Regions from separate parts of the Homo sapiens genome. Here region 2 is linked to region 1. Evidence: promoter capture Hi-C in human tissues and cell types (Jung and others, 2019). All regions are on one chromosome and are shown on one strand. The core of a region is centred on a gene start or on the middle of the fragment in contact, and the rest is flanking DNA. Distances in the headings are between cores, read along the strand shown. Region 1 holds the start of MC2R (melanocortin 2 receptor). Region 2 has its middle 15 kb from the start of MC5R.

Evidence for each region. The method cuts DNA at HindIII sites, captures the fragments that hold promoters and counts their contacts. A contact is called where the count stands out against the background at its distance.
Region 2: a contact is called between a fragment that was not itself captured here and the fragment with the promoter of MC2R in region 1, in 3 of the 25 tissues and cell types used here (dorsolateral prefrontal cortex, mesendoderm cells and thymus).

The regions. Positions count from the first base shown.
Region 1 is chr18:13,911,128-13,918,742 of GRCh38, reverse strand. MC2R (melanocortin 2 receptor) reads left to right here and starts at 3,207. Exons shown (of 2, transcript NM_000529.2): 1 at 3,207-3,255. The HindIII fragment of the contact is 21,573 bases long and covers 1-7,615 here.
Region 2 is chr18:13,834,978-13,842,592 of GRCh38, reverse strand. No RefSeq gene overlaps it. Among named protein-coding and RNA genes, the nearest start is that of MC5R, 15 kb to the right of the region's middle. RefSeq lists an enhancer at 7,140-7,615. The HindIII fragment of the contact is 9,332 bases long and covers 1-7,615 here.

The sequences.
Region 1 (7,615 bases), core at 1,958-4,457:
CAAAGGCCATGAAGTTTCAGGGTTACAGGAGGAGTAAGTTCTGCAGGCCCGAGGTACAGCATGGTGACTGTAGCTAATCATGTGTTGTATGCTTGAAATGTGCAAAGAGAAGGGCAGGGGATGGTGGCTCACGCCTGTAATCCCAGCACTTTGGGAGGCCGAGGTGGGTGGATTGCCTAAGCTCAGGAGTTCGAGATCAGCCTGGGAAACACAGTGAAACCCCATCTCTACTAAAACATAAAAACTTAGCCGGGCATGGCGGCGTGCGCCTGTAGTCCCAGCTACTTGAGAGGCTGAGGCAGGAGAATTGCTTATACCTGGGAGGCAGAGGTTGCAGTGAGCCAAGATGGTGCCACTGCACTCCAGCCTGGGCAACAGAGGGAGAGCCCATCTCAAACACAAAACAAAACAAAACAAAAGAAAAAGAAAAAGAAAAGGAAATGTGCAAAGAGAGCAGATCTGAAGTGTTCTCACCACACACACAGAAAGGCAACTGCAGGCCGATGGGTATGTTCAGTAGATTGGCTGCAGTCAGCAGTCCACTGTGAGTATACACACAAAACATCATATACACCTTAAATATATACAATATTTATTTAAAATTTAAATGTAAATGTTTCATAAGAGCTTGTCCATGCTTGCTGTCTCCTCTCCTCACTTCCCATTTCCTCCTCAAGCAGCTCCCACCAGGCACCCACCTCTACCACTGTCCCGTCTCCCCTCTGGCCCCTACAACCCGTGGAGAGGATCCTTTAAAGCCTGAATCAGGTCATGTCATCCTAGTCCTGACTCCTCATCGTTCTTACAGGAAAGTCTTAAGTGCTATCATGGCCTCTGTAGAGCCACTGAACTTCTCAGATCCCCATCTATAAATGGGGTCTGTAAGGTGACTTCACACATGTGCTGAGAAGATTAAATGTCGAGATATGTACAGCACTGAGAACATTCATCATGGCTGGCACATAGGAAACCCACTGTGGATTCTTACCATTGCTTCCACTGCAGATTTCAGCAAAGACATTTGTGAGTTACCTTCCAACCCCAGCATTTTCTATGTCAGAATGGGGCAGTCCTGCAAACACAAAAGACAGATCCCCGGCCCTGTCTCTTCTTCCTGTCCCCTTCTGTTTCCCCATTGCATCTCCTTTCCCCTTGCTCTGCCTCCCAAGCCTCCCCCACCCTCTCACTCTTTCTCTCTCTCTGCCTCTTTAGCTTTTCCATGAGAGGGACAAGCACTGGGGAGGAAGTTGTATTTGTGAAAGTGACCGAGTTGTATACGATTGTGTGAGAAGAGAAGAAAGGGTGCATACAGAAGCCCTTTGAATGCTCCCTAAAATTCCCCTTTTCCATCGTATCTCTTGGGATGAGAGAGAGACTGGGCTGGTGACGGAATGGTGGCGCAGTTGTAACATGGTCATCAGAGTTCATCTACCAGCATCTCCACTTACAAGTTTGCTTTCCAATGATCACCAGCTGAATGGGTTTCCCTACAGCAAAGATATTTCTTTTAAAATACCACTATTTCAAGAGTGTTTGGACAGGGTTATAACAAAAACCATAGGTATTGGCATATGGTTTTAGATTTCCCTGAGCACTGTTACAAACCTAGTCTGAATTCTCACAACAGCCCGCTTTACACCAGGCAATGGAGTCCTAGAGGCCTGGCACTCAGAACTCTGACCGCGTGTCTTCTGGTTCTAAACTCTGTCATTTCTACTCTGCTCCTTCCAAGAGATTTTTGCCCCCTTTTCTCTAAAAATTGGAGAGAGATGAGCCCCCAAAATGGAAGAACTAAAATAGCAATAGCTACTCTCTTTGCAGGGCTTAGCCAAACCCCTAGGCAACCTTCCCCCTGCTGGAAGTCTCTCCCTGTCCCTCCCAATCAGAGTGGCCCAGGTCCCACCCAGGGGACTGGCCGAGGCTCGCCTCCTCCAGACAGTGTTCCCATTGTCTGCAGCCTGCCTGATGTCCCACTCCCCAGGGCTGGCCACCGGTTTTCCCAATCAGCTAATCAGATCCACAGATCTCTGACAAAGGGCCTCTGCTTCTGCAAGTACAAGGGCTAAGGACGAGTTGTCTCTACTTTTCCAGATAATACAGTAGCTTTCTGGAGGCAATGCCTTGCTTTTCTCTGTTATCTCAACTACATGACTGAAGAGGGAAAGAGGCCTGTGGAACGCCGGGTTTCAGCTGCAGGGCATGTTGCGGAGGCACACACCTACTCAGAAACAGTCGAAGTCTGGGATGATCCTGGGTCCATGAGTTCCTGGGGACAACACGCTTTGCCTCAGTGACAGGCCAGGAAAAGCCACTTTATAAAATTGTGTTTACCCGCCTGGCAAATTCAACTCAGGTCTCTCTCTTTGGTCTTTTCCAGACCACCCACGTGTGAACACTTTTTAGCTTGGGGCGGAAGCTCACATTTCAGAAACAGCCACTGGTTTGGCCCCAGCCCCAAAAACCCAGGACCATCTGGAAACTTGGCCCAATTCCACACTTCAACATTCCTGTTGCTGTGACTGACACCAACAGTAGCCCTTCCCTGCAGGCCCCGGCAGGCAGAAAACACACAGCATTGCACCCTAAAATGGAAGAATTTTGCTTTGAATGATGGCTCTTATCTATGGCGGTTTCTGTGAAGTTTTTGGACGGAGAAGCATTGGCAGAACACAGGGTTTTTTTCTTGTCTGGACCCATGCGTCATATGTGCACTTGAGCACACAGTTCCCTCACTCTCATTGTTTAGTCTTGTGAAATAGGGATAATGGGGCTATTCCCTTCTTCTTAATGAAACTAATGAGCCAAATATTTGCAAGATATATCAAGAAGTTTGCTAGAAGTTTTAAAACAAATTCTTCCAAAACCATTTTCTCAAAAACCTGATTTATTTAATTCCTTAGTTCTTTTTGGAAATAAATGCAACTCTAAAGTGGCATTTAAAAAGAGCAAGATGACAATTCCATAATCTGCTAGAAACATTGTCATAAACATTGGAAGTAACCTTGACTAGCTGAGCTCATGGAAATTATGTCTTCATCTGCCTGTGTCTTTCCATTTCTCTAACTTCACATTACCAGAAATGCACAGTTCATGTGGGATGACATTTATTCAAGGTAATGATAACAATCTAGCTGTATCTCCGGTGATGCATGTGTTCCGGCCCTTCCCGGCCCAAGGTCCACTTGCTTGCTTTTCTCTCCGAGCTCATTCCTTCTCATTCATTTTGCCCAGAAAGTTCCTGCTTCAGAGCTGAAGGTAAGTACATTTTCCACTAATTCCTCAGCTTGCTAAGTGCTTTTGGACCATGAATAGAGCAGCTAGGAACAAATCTGAGAAGAGGTACTATTCAGAATTCCTCCAAATAGCTCATCTTTTTAATTATGGGCTTTCATCCTTCCTAAGGGAGTTTATTATTTTTCTAATTAAACTACTACAATGAAGGCTATTACCTTTTTGTCTAGCTAAAACAATCTTCCCTATTAATGAATTTATTGGCTTCTCTAGTACTCTTCAAATTGTCATTGAGCTCTATTCAAGGACTACAGCCAGTTTTTTCCTAATAGAATTAGGGGTGAAACAAATCATGCTTCTATTATCACTTCTGGAGTTAGCCCCTTCACCTGATCAGCTTGTCTAGGTGTAAGAGTGCGGGGGTTTTAGCGCCACAAAGACGTGGGCATGCGGCAGCTTCCTGAACCTCAGGCATTGGTGTCTAAGCAACTCCACCATCCACACGTGTGACGTTACAGTTCTGGGAGATGCACGCACACTTTCTGTGCCTTTCTCAACCACTAGCTCAGTCAGCCTCCACCTTCCTAGGCAGCAACACGGGGTGCAGGATAAACAATAACTAAAAGCATACTGATTATCACATACTCCTGCAAAGTGTTTGCACCCAGAAAGCATGCAGTCACTGCCATCATGAGGGGCTCACACCTTCCTTTGGCTGGCTCTGTCGGGGGGCACATGTTACCTAGAAAAGAGGCCCAGGCATTCGATTAAACAGCTCTTCTTCATATTTCAGTTTGTCTAAGCTGCCTTCAGATAACTGTCCCCATTCTTCACTTACACACACACACTCATACACACACATATACACACATACACGTGCACACTTGTAAACATACATACATACATGCATGCAAAAAGTCCAAAAGGGATAGGAATGGGAAAGGGGTACAAAGGGGTCCAGAGAGTACAGCCTTGAGCAGATCAGAAGGAGGAGTGCTCCTCACATGCCCTCCCCACCCCATCCCCGGAGTGGGAGTGAAGCGGTGGTCACAGGCTCTGCTCACACATTCATGCCTAGATCAAGCTGTACCGAACCCTTATGTGCTGGGCCTTGTTGCAAGCCTAAGTCAGAGTGGAGCCTCCTGGAGCCCCGGCGCTGAGGACAGCGCACACTGAGACAACACTTCACACTAGCTCCCAGACAGGACACACACCCACAAAGAGCTGTGGGAGCAGGGAGACGGGAGCCCTCACCCTGCCTTTGGGACACCGCTTAGGCCGCGGCAGGGGTGGAGGAGGGCATGAACCAGGGTAATGGGGTAGATAAGCTCCAAAGCCATCCTGACTTCTCAGTGGATCCTGAATCTCTGGCAGAGGAGGTTTTTGCTCAGCAGCAAATTGCCCTCTCACTGCCTCAGAGCAACTTAAGACATCTTAAAAAAAAAAAAAAATCCTATTCTTTACCTTGTTAATGATCCCAGGTATGTTTCCTATGGAATCCTTAGTGTCTAATACATTTTAATGAGAGCTTTCTTGTCTGTGTAAGCCACATTCCTTGCCTTCATTAGGCAAATATAATTGCTGTGGGCCAGGTTGTCTGCAGGGCTCAGCCTCAGACATGGTCAGGGCAGGTCTTATCCTAAGGAACTCAGATCCATCTGCAGGGTTTTCATGTGAATAATGCCGTTGTAGAAATAAGAACAAACAGCTACAGGTGCATAGACGGGCAGCAATCCTGGGCTCCCTTGGGATGCGGGGGCAGTGGAAGAGAGTCTGTACTTGGGCAAGGACACAGTGCTGAGTGTGAGAAGTGAGGAAGGACGTGTCCAGGCCCAGGGAGAGAGAACGTGTGAACAGACAGGCAAGCGCTGGTGCAGACCCACCCAGTGGGCCTTAAAGTGTGGTGGAGTCCTAAAGTCTTAACTTCTCTGTTCTCTGACTATGAGCCGCCAGGGTACAAAATTTGGAAGATGGTTTTAAAGTAAGTTCTCAACTCAAAATATGCGTGTGCCAAGCGCTGTGCTAGCAGCATGGGTAACGCACAGAGCCTGACTTGGTGGGAGAACAACATGTGCAAACTACAGAGACTAATCAACCTAGTAGGTGTCCCAGCATCAAAACCTGGGGGCAGCAAGCGTTTGTGTGAGCAGCACAGCCGTGGCAGGGAAAGGTCCGAGTGGGTCACACTGGCAGGAAGGCACCGTGGAGGAAGCCTGCCATGAGCAGTGAAGCTCAGAGGACGGGAGATGTGAGCGGGTGGAAGGTGGTGGTCCAGGTGAGGCTGTGCAGGGAGCTGAGCATCACACTGATTTCCAACCAGAACACTCCAGCCTGGGCTTCATGCCTCCCTAGCTGTGAGCTCCTGCAAAAGCTTCCATTCTCGGGACTTTCCTTCGCTCGTCCTAAGATGTGATCACATTGTCATTCATGCCTAATTTCCAGTCTTGTGTATATTAAAAAAGAAATTATACTGTAAGCAGCAGTTCTCTGTGAAGTGTCGGAAAAGCTGTAAACCTGCCCAGCGGCCTGCAAGATGATCACACCGAGAGATGCTTCTGCCTGTGCCCGGCATGGGGAAAAAGAATAAAGCCACCCCCAAAATAAGGCTCCCTTGAAGGCCTCTCATAATTGAGCCTATGCGGAATTCAAAACAAGATGTGCGCTGGATTCAGATGAGCCATTGCCTACCATAGCGAGCTCTGCTGGCTGCAGCCAGTCTTCACAGTGATAAGCGTAACTTATAACTCTGTAAGATCAACATCAGTAAGTTCAAGGAAAACTGACTTCAGCTGGAGACAGTGACTGGGCCCTAGCAAAGCAGTTGGGATGGTCCGGGAGCAGAAAACAACGTAGAAATTCATCTGTCCTTGAATTTTTCCTATTTCAACAGAGTATTGATTAATTGATTAATAATAATCTACAAGTTTTATTATGGTGCTATGTTGTTATTTTGTTTTATTTAGCACCAAAACAGCCTCAGAGTCCTGAGCCCCTCAGTTCCCAGCTCCTCCCACAGCTCTTGGCCCAACCTGACCCGGTCCTCCTACCCATACCTGTTTCAGAGCTAGGCTTGTCCTGCTTCCAAACACTCAGCCTCTCAGGCTCTTTGGAATAACCAAGCGAGCACAGACCTTGGAATGAGGCAGATTCGCAGCTGGGTGACCTTAAGCAAGTAACCCAACCTCCCTGAGCCTCCGTTTTCTTATCTATAATATAGGCAGGGGAGCAGGAAATAGGAACACCTACCCTTTATGTGTAACTGGAGCATTAAGAGAGAATACCTTTCACTCTGCCCTGTCTCCAACCTTTAACATTGCAAGAGAAACCATGGCAAAATCAAATTGCCCTTAAAGTGCAGAATTGTAAGGATGTGCTGAGGTATCCTGGAATCTGCTGTTTTACCTGGTTGAGTATTAAGTAAAATTGCTGAACATGCATTGTGGGCCCAACACAGTACAGAATGAATTACCTAAAGCACTCGTAAGTGAAGCCAATTCTTTTCCATGCCATCCACACCATGGAGCAGTTCTGACCCCAATTTGCAAGTGACCAAAGGCTCACCTGTCCTCTTTCTCAGCTGTGCATGTCTTACCTCCTCAGCTAGATGTTCATAGGCAGTACGGTGTTTCCTGTATCTTTTGGATTTCCAATGACATATAACCTAAAATTGGATCCTAGAGGTGCTAAAAACTGCCAATTCTTTAAGTGATTACTTGGATTAAAGCCCCCAAAAGATCTTAAATCTTTCTTCCTCCTGCCCTCCTCATATGCCCCAATCTCCTTTTTCCCAGTTAACATCCCCCAGACCCTAGGATGGAGACCCTGTCATAGATGGCGCAAAGCCAGTGACTCCAGAGCAAGGTCCAGAAGCCAAAGCTACCCGCTGCACTCATGGTGGCCCTGGGGTCTGATTGGGCTGGACTCGGCCACTTTTTAAAGGTGGGGCGAATAGGAGCTAGGTAAGGCAGAGAAGTCTTCCAGGCACTCGTCCAAAGATACCCAGCAAATTTTAAAGCCTTCATCTGGGAGAAAAAGCAGATCTTTACTGACATCCTTTTATTTCATGGCATTTGTTTGGCTAACTAAACCAGTTATAAACTAGTTTATGCTTTTTCAAAAGAGGAAATTTTGAGCCATTTCAGAGATGAGAATGAAAATGGGACTGTGCAGGGAAGAATTTAGTACTAGTTTTTAAGGTAAAACAAGGACTTGATGGAGTTTCTTTATCTAATAAAAAGGGAGCTCCAGGAGAGGCTGCAGGCTGCCTGGGTTGCTCCCTGACACTCCGGCCCCTGCTCTCGGCTGCCCGGCCCTCAGCTCCTCTCCTGTCCCTGTGTCCTTTGGCCCCTAGTCCCTGCTACTGTTACTGGCCTCCTTGCTCTAG
Region 2 (7,615 bases), core at 1,704-4,203, 76 kb after region 1:
CACCACTAAAGTCTATATAACATCACATCCTTGTTCAAAAATTCCCACACTGCTGAAACCTCTAGAAAATTGACAGGGGTACATAAAATGAAGCATGTTAATAGCTTGTAAGCTCTTAGACTTTGTTACCTCAAAGTGTAGTATAATTTCTACCAATATAACACTTTCTTAATGAGTTAAATTAGGTAAATGTATTCATAATGCAAACAAAAAGTCCCCTGCTTTTCTAGAGGCAGTTCTTAGTTTTTTTTTGTTTTTTTTTTGTTTGAGACAGAGTCTCGCTCAGTCACCCAGGCTGGAGTGCAGTGGCGCAATCTCGACTCACTACAATCTTCACCTCCCAGATTCAAGCAATTCTCCTGCCTCAGCCTCCCCAGTAGCTGGGACTACAGGCACGTGCCACCACGCCCAGCTAATTTTTTATTTTTTGTATTTTTAGTAGAAACGGGGTTTCACCGTGTTAGCCAGGATGATCTCGATCTCCTGACGTCGTGATTCACCCGCCTCAGCCTCCCAAAGTGCTGGGATTGCAGGCGTGAGCCACCGCACCCGGCCAGTTCTTAATCTTTTGTGGTTGATCTTCCTGCTCCCTGATCTCCCTATCTTGGCAGAATTCTGCGGAACATGGTCAAAGTCTGACGTTGAGATACTAGGGAATGTGAAGAAAGATGAACTTTCATTGTACGAGGGTATATGCATACCTAGAGGCTCTTCAAGACTTGCTAACAAACTATCAAATTTTTCAATTATACTACAGACTATATGCATCAGTAAAGGAGTATCTATATGGGTTTGCAGACAGAAACAACTAGATCATTCTCTCTGCAATTCTGCATAAATAATATTTAGATCTTACATACTCAGCACATGCTGGCAAAGTATATAACAGCTGTGGTTGTTTGCTACTTCTTTAATGATGATAATGTCAAAAGGAGATCAGCACTCTTGAGCATAAGAGGCTCTAGCCGCAAACTGTGGCATGTGTAGCAAATACGGATCTGCACAAAGTATATGAAACCCCTCTCACTAAATACAGGTAAAGCAGTACCCATGTAAGTAGTACATGAAGACTTCTTTTTCCTCTATTTCAAAAGGTATATTTAGGGAAACCATATATCTTAAGTTTTAACTTTTTGGCTGCTGTTCCCATTTCTCTTGAAATTCATTAAAGGTCATTTATAAAATATATATTAGATTATATCAGTATTAATAATTTTAAATATATGAAAGTATAATTCAGAATAAGTATTTGGTCAAAAAACATAGCTTTATAACTCTGGCCATAAATAATACATATCAACCTTTATTTGTAGTTCGCAAAGACAGCTTAATATTTAAATATCTATTAATGTAATATATCACATTAACAAATTAAAGGAGAAAAATGATCAGCTGATAGATGCTGGAAAAGCATTAAATAAAATTTAATATTCATTTATAATTTATTTATATGCCATCAGGAGGCCACTCGTGGTGGTTCTCACCTGTAATCCCAGCACTTTGGGAGGCCAAGTCAGGCTGATTTCTTGAGCCCAGGAGTTTGAGACCAGCCTGGGCAGCATGGCAAAAACCCATTTCTACAAAAAGTACAAAAATTAGCCAGACATGGCGTCAAGCCTGTAGTCCCAGCTGTTTGAGAGGCTGAGCGGGGAGATTGCTTGAGCCTGGGAGGTGGAGGTTGCAGTGAGCCATAATCGCCTCACTGTACTCCAGCCTGGGTGACAAAGCAAAACTGTCTCAAAAACAAAAAATAAAAAATAAGTAGATATAGACAAATGTTACAATTTGATAAAGCTGTGTGGTATTTATATGAGTTTTGTTGACTCCAAACTGTGTAGAGTTGAAATGTTTAATTAATACAAGGATTTTTTAAAAAAGAAGCCAACACGAGATGGTCCCATCTCAGCCTCCCAAGTAGCTGGGACTACAGACGCGACACCATGTCCAGCTAATTTTTGTACTTTTCGTAGAAATGGGGTTTTGCTATGTTGCCCAGGCTGATCTCAATGCACAAAAAGGTAGAATTAAATCTTTCCATGGTCAGAAAGATTCAATTCTACCTTTTTTTTTTTCATTTCTGCCTAAAGAAAATATCATTTGCAGAATTTCAATTTATCCACACCCAGAGAGGGAAGCTAACTGAATCTGAATACATAGGGGAGAGAAGATGAAATGGTTTATTTGCTCAAGGGATGAAAGCTAGTTCACTATTAACCATGGCCCAAAACTAATTAGGCAGCAACTAGGATATTGTTGGAATAAAACAATATTCCAAAGTCAAATAGAGACATTTACTCTTTCGAATTATCCATGCCACCATACTTTCCCTTTGAGGTACTTGGTAAGAAACCACTAAACCACAAAATACTATTTGGTCATAGGTTTCAGAGATTCAAAGAAGGAGGGCGCTTGGTAGGAACACTGGGCAGAGTTTATTTGCTTCAAAAGGGAATGTATCATTAGCATCTTAGCGACAAAATTGTTATTTAGCAAAAAGATAGGAAATAACATGAGGAGTAGAATTAGAAATCTGTGCAGTTGAGGTAGAGGCCTCTGAATTTTAAAGACTATCCTTTGAACAGTTGCAAACAGAAAGAAGACACAATCTCTGTGCATAATGTGTCAGCTGTGATGCAGAGGAGTGCCCATTTGATGGGTCCCATGATGAGAAGTCTGGCTGGATGAGAACCATGGCACAGGAAGAAGGTGAGGTGGGACCAGAGCTATGGAATCCCAGACCCTCCTGGCCAAGATTCTCACCAACATGCTGACGCAGAGGGGCTGATGAGTAGCCACAAAATCTTATGAGACATGTATCTGAATATTATCTGTAATGTGTCATTTCTGTTATATTAATACTAAATATTAAAAGTATTGAAGGAATAAATGAAGAAGGCACAAGTGTCTGAACATGCTGGATTCATTAGAATGGATAAGATGGGTGTATTTTTACACAATGCTTGAACAGGTCCATTTTATCTGGAATATTCCACAATTTTTACACACTCATTCTTCTTTTAGGTATGTTTGCTTAGATCGATATGCATACAAACACTAAGTTACTGAATTAATACATAGGTCCTTCCAGAGCCCTCAAATTTAGCTTCACCACATCCAGAGTATTCTGTGAAGAGAGGAATAAGTGAGGCTTTTGTCAAATGAATTTAATTAGACTATATTAGTGGAACCCCTTTGAGGTTCAGTTCAGACCATTTTAATCAAAAGGAATAAAATAAAAATTACCTGCTTCTAAAATTGTGCCTTCCAGCTGTTCTTTTTTTTTTTTTAAAGGCCAGAACTGAACACATTCTCAATTAGTCACCTAGCTCACCCACCAGACCCCTGGGTGGTCTGTGGTTCTCAGTCTAGTTGGCTTGAGCCTGGTGCCAGGGACACAAAAGTGAGGTATTTTCTCCATGAGAGAAGACTTTTGCTTGGTTTTGGGGTGCTGCCCTAAAAATCCAGGCGACGTGTCCCCAGCATTCCTTTGGTTGGTGGGAGTGCATCCATCCTTTCTACTGTGAAGGGCGGCGTGTAAGGCAGACAAACCTGGACACCCACAGGAGCGGTGCCTCCTGTAAACTGCTTTTCCCCGGCAGCGTCCTTCACATCCTTGGCATGTACCGAAGCCTTGGCCATTCCTCTCACTGTGGGGGAAGGCTGGTGCCCCGCCAGCTATGCCATGGGTGCCACTGCACCTTTTGTTCTGCCACCTCGGGCACTGTTCCGTCCATGCACATGGTGTGGGAGAGGCTGTGTCATTCTTGCCTTGTAAACCTGAGTCTGGAGGCTAGAGCACCCTCAGGAAGAGCCTTTCTTGCCCTTTTTCTTATCATTTTGAAGAGCCTGTTGCCTTTCTATGTACACAGACTCTACAATGGAGCCAAATATAAGAGGTCTGTGATCCTGTAGCCTGAATCAGAAGACATAGCTGGCTTCTCATGTCGCCATCGATTTGTATTGGATCTCTCTCTTTCTCAGTGTCTCATATTAAGTATCATGGTAATTGTACCTAAGAATATTAGGAAAAGATCTATCATGGCCTTCAGGACTGGAGGAACCTCAACAATCTACAGACCAGCTGGCTCCTAGCTGCTCTCCGTGAAACTGACCATTCCGCAGAGAGAGTTGATGAGTCCAGGCTCCTCCTGCCCAGGTTCTTGGCACATCCCTGGCCCCTGGAGCTCCTAGGACTCCACCTGAAGTTTGAAAACCACCAGGCCTAGTCAAACTCTCCCCTTTACAGCAAGTGCAGCTGAAATGAGGGAATTTCCAAAACATATGCAGTTACTTCATATCACAAGAATTGCGGCCGGGCGCAGTGACTCACACCTGTAAACCCAGCACTTTGGGAGGCTGAGGTGAGCAGATCACCTGAGGTCAGGAGTTCAAGACCAGCCTGGCCAACATGGCAAAACCCCATTTCTACTAAAAATACAAGAATTAGCCAAGCATGGTGTCACATGCCTATAATCCCAGCTACTTGGGAGGCTGAGGCAGGAGAATTGCTTGAACCCGGGAGGCGGAGGTTGCAGTGAGCCAAGATCGTGCCACTGCACTCCAGGCTGGGCGACAAAGTGAGACTCTGTCTCAAAAAAAAAAAAAAAAAAAAATTGCAAGAACCCAGGTCTCCTGCTCCAGGGCTCAGTATGTGTTCTACTGCCCCACAGTTCTTCCTACAAAATGAGGAAAGGCTTATTTATCTAATTTGTGAGGGCAACTATATATTCTTTATTATGAAGGAATTCACTTTGACAACAATTATGAAGCCCAGACTGAGTTACTAGCACGAGTTCTAGGGGTAGCTACATCCCACTCTGAACTTTCCGGTTATAATCCTTGCCTTCTTTCTCGGCCTTCACAGAAAACCCAGACTCAAGCCCCGCCCTCCTTTTCCTGGAAAATGCCAAAGCCAACTGCGTAAGAGGTTTTTTTCTCCCAGGAAGAACCTTGTCTTCCTAGAAAACAATCTCCACCTCCCCACACTTTGCTGTATGAGGCAGAGAACAGCCCCAAACATGGACAGGCCTCGGTGGAAAGGGTGCGTTGTTGCTGTTGTGAATGGGATGACACGGCCTCCTGGCCTAGCGGCCCAGGTCCCTCGCGGCAGGGGCTGGATTTCCCACCCAGAGCGGAGCTCATGGCCTGCAGCACCGCAGAGACGGTTCCTGGGAGGAGCGGGGCCAGGGAGTTCCTGGGAACGTGCTGTTTTCATTACTGATATTCCCGAGGGCTTCTCTTTGGGGTTGAAGGAGTAGGAGGAACTGTGCCTTCTTAAGAATGTGAGAGGGCCGGGCGCGGTGGCTCACGCCTGTAATACCAGCACTTTGGGAGGCCGAGGCGGGCGGATCACGAGGTCAGGAGATCGAGACCATCCTGGCTAACACGGTGAAACCCCGTCTTTACTAAAAATACAACAACAAAAAATTAGCCGGGTGTGGTGGCGGGCGCCAACAGTCCCAGCTACTCGGGAGGCTGAGGCAGGAGAATGGTGTGAATCCGGGAGGCGGAGCTTGCCAGTGAGCCGAGATCGTGCCACTGCTCTCCAGCCTGGGTGACAGAGCGAGACTCCCTCTCAAAAAAAAAAAAAAAGAACGTGAGAGAAAGAGGACACTGAGGTGAGGGGAAGACGGGAAGACAAAGCGCGGCGTCTGCCCGTGTCCGGAGCCCTGCGCTGAGTTCTCACTGAGAGCAGGACTGGAGGGCGGATCCTAGGAGCACTGTTTCCATGGCTCCCTAGAAAGAGGCCAGGCACAAGAAGGGCAGGACAGAGCCCAGGGCGGGGAGTCTGCCCGCTTCCGTAGCAGCCCCAGGCACGCGGCTCTGGAAGCTTGTCCACAGATCTAGCTGTCGCTCCTCGCCCTGCAGTCGCTCCTCGTGCAGCCTTATCCTGTGACTGCGGGCACTGCCCGTGCTGTGCCCTTCTCTTGCGCAACTGCCTGTCTGATATCTACACAGAATTTCCCCATCTCCGGAGACGCCCTGCCTGCGGCTCTAGTCAGAAATCAGGCTGTCTTGATTTCTTTCTACCCCTTACTTTCCACATTCTACCCCCAGACTGGACACCTCCAGTCTCTGCCCCCTTCACAGCCACCCAGGCCAGCATCCCTCTTGCCCAAGGAACCGAAACACTATCTGGATGCCTCCTGACACCGGCTGAACTCTCACAGCCACCCCAGAGCCAGAGATGTTTCTTTTTTTTTTTTTTTTAATTATACTCTAAGTTTTAGGGTACATGTGCACAACATGCAGGTTAGTTACATATGTATACATGTGCCATGCTGGTGCGCTGCACCCACTAACGTGTCATCTAGCATTAGGTATATCTCCCAATGCTATCCCTCCCCCCTCCCCCGACCCCACCACAGTCCCCAGAGTGTGATATTCCCCTTCCTGTGTCCATGTGATCTCATTGTTCAATTCCCACCTATGAGTGAGAATATGCGGTGTTTGGTTTTTTGTTCTTGCCATAGTTTACTGAGAATGATGGTTTCCAATTTCATCCATGTCCCTACAAAGGACATGAACTCATCATTTTTTATGGCTGCATAGTATTCCATGGTGTATTATGTGCCACATTTTCTTAATCCAGTCTATCATTGTTGGACATTTGGGTTGGTTCCAAGTCTTTGCTATTGTGAATAGTGCCGCAATAAACATACGTGTGCATGTGTCTTTATAGCAGCATGATTTATATAAACTCTTGTCGTGTTATTCACTTCCTGGTGGAAAACCCCTTGATAAGCTCCTATTACCCTTAGGAGGAAATAGAACCTCTTTAAAATGGGGACTGTGCATCTACTACCCATCTGTCTCGGTTTCAGCCCCATGGACTCTCCTTTCGTCTCCGCATTCTTTCTTCTGGTGTCCAAACTCTTCCATCATGAATCTTTATCAGTAGATAATTTTCTGTGTATTTTTACCAGTCATATATTTTGAGTACGTATTTACCAATTATATACACATCTTATTGCTGATTTTATTTTTAAATCAGTAAAGCATAGCTATTTAGATAATATTTCCTTCTGTAACTCCAGGGATTCATCTTGCACAGCCGTGGGCCGGGTGCTCACTTTGTGGGGACTTCTGCTGTGGCCACGTGCAGTCCCTCCAGACCAGGAGTCCCCATCCCCCCAGCCACAGACCAGACCAATTAGGAACCAAGCCGCACAGCAGGAGGTGAGCAGAGGCAAGCAAGCATTACTGCGTGAGCCCTGCCTCCTGTCAGATCAGCCTCCTCAACATTAGATTCTCATAGGAGCGTGAACCCTACTGTGAACTGCACATGTGAGGGATCTAGGTTATGTGTTCCTTATGAGAATCAAATGCCTGATGATCCATCACCATCTCCCATCACCCCCAGATAGGACCATCTAGTTGCAGGAAAACAAGCTCAGGGCTCCCACTGATTCTACATTATGGTGAGTTGTATAATTATTTCATTACATATTACAATGTAATAATAATAGAAATAAAGTGCACAATGAACGTAATGCACTTGAATCATCCCAAAACCATCCCACCTCCCAACCCCAGTCCTGTCCATGGAAAAATTGTCTTTCACAAAACAGGTTCCCGGTTCCCAAAAGACTGGGGACTGCTGCTCTAGACCTCT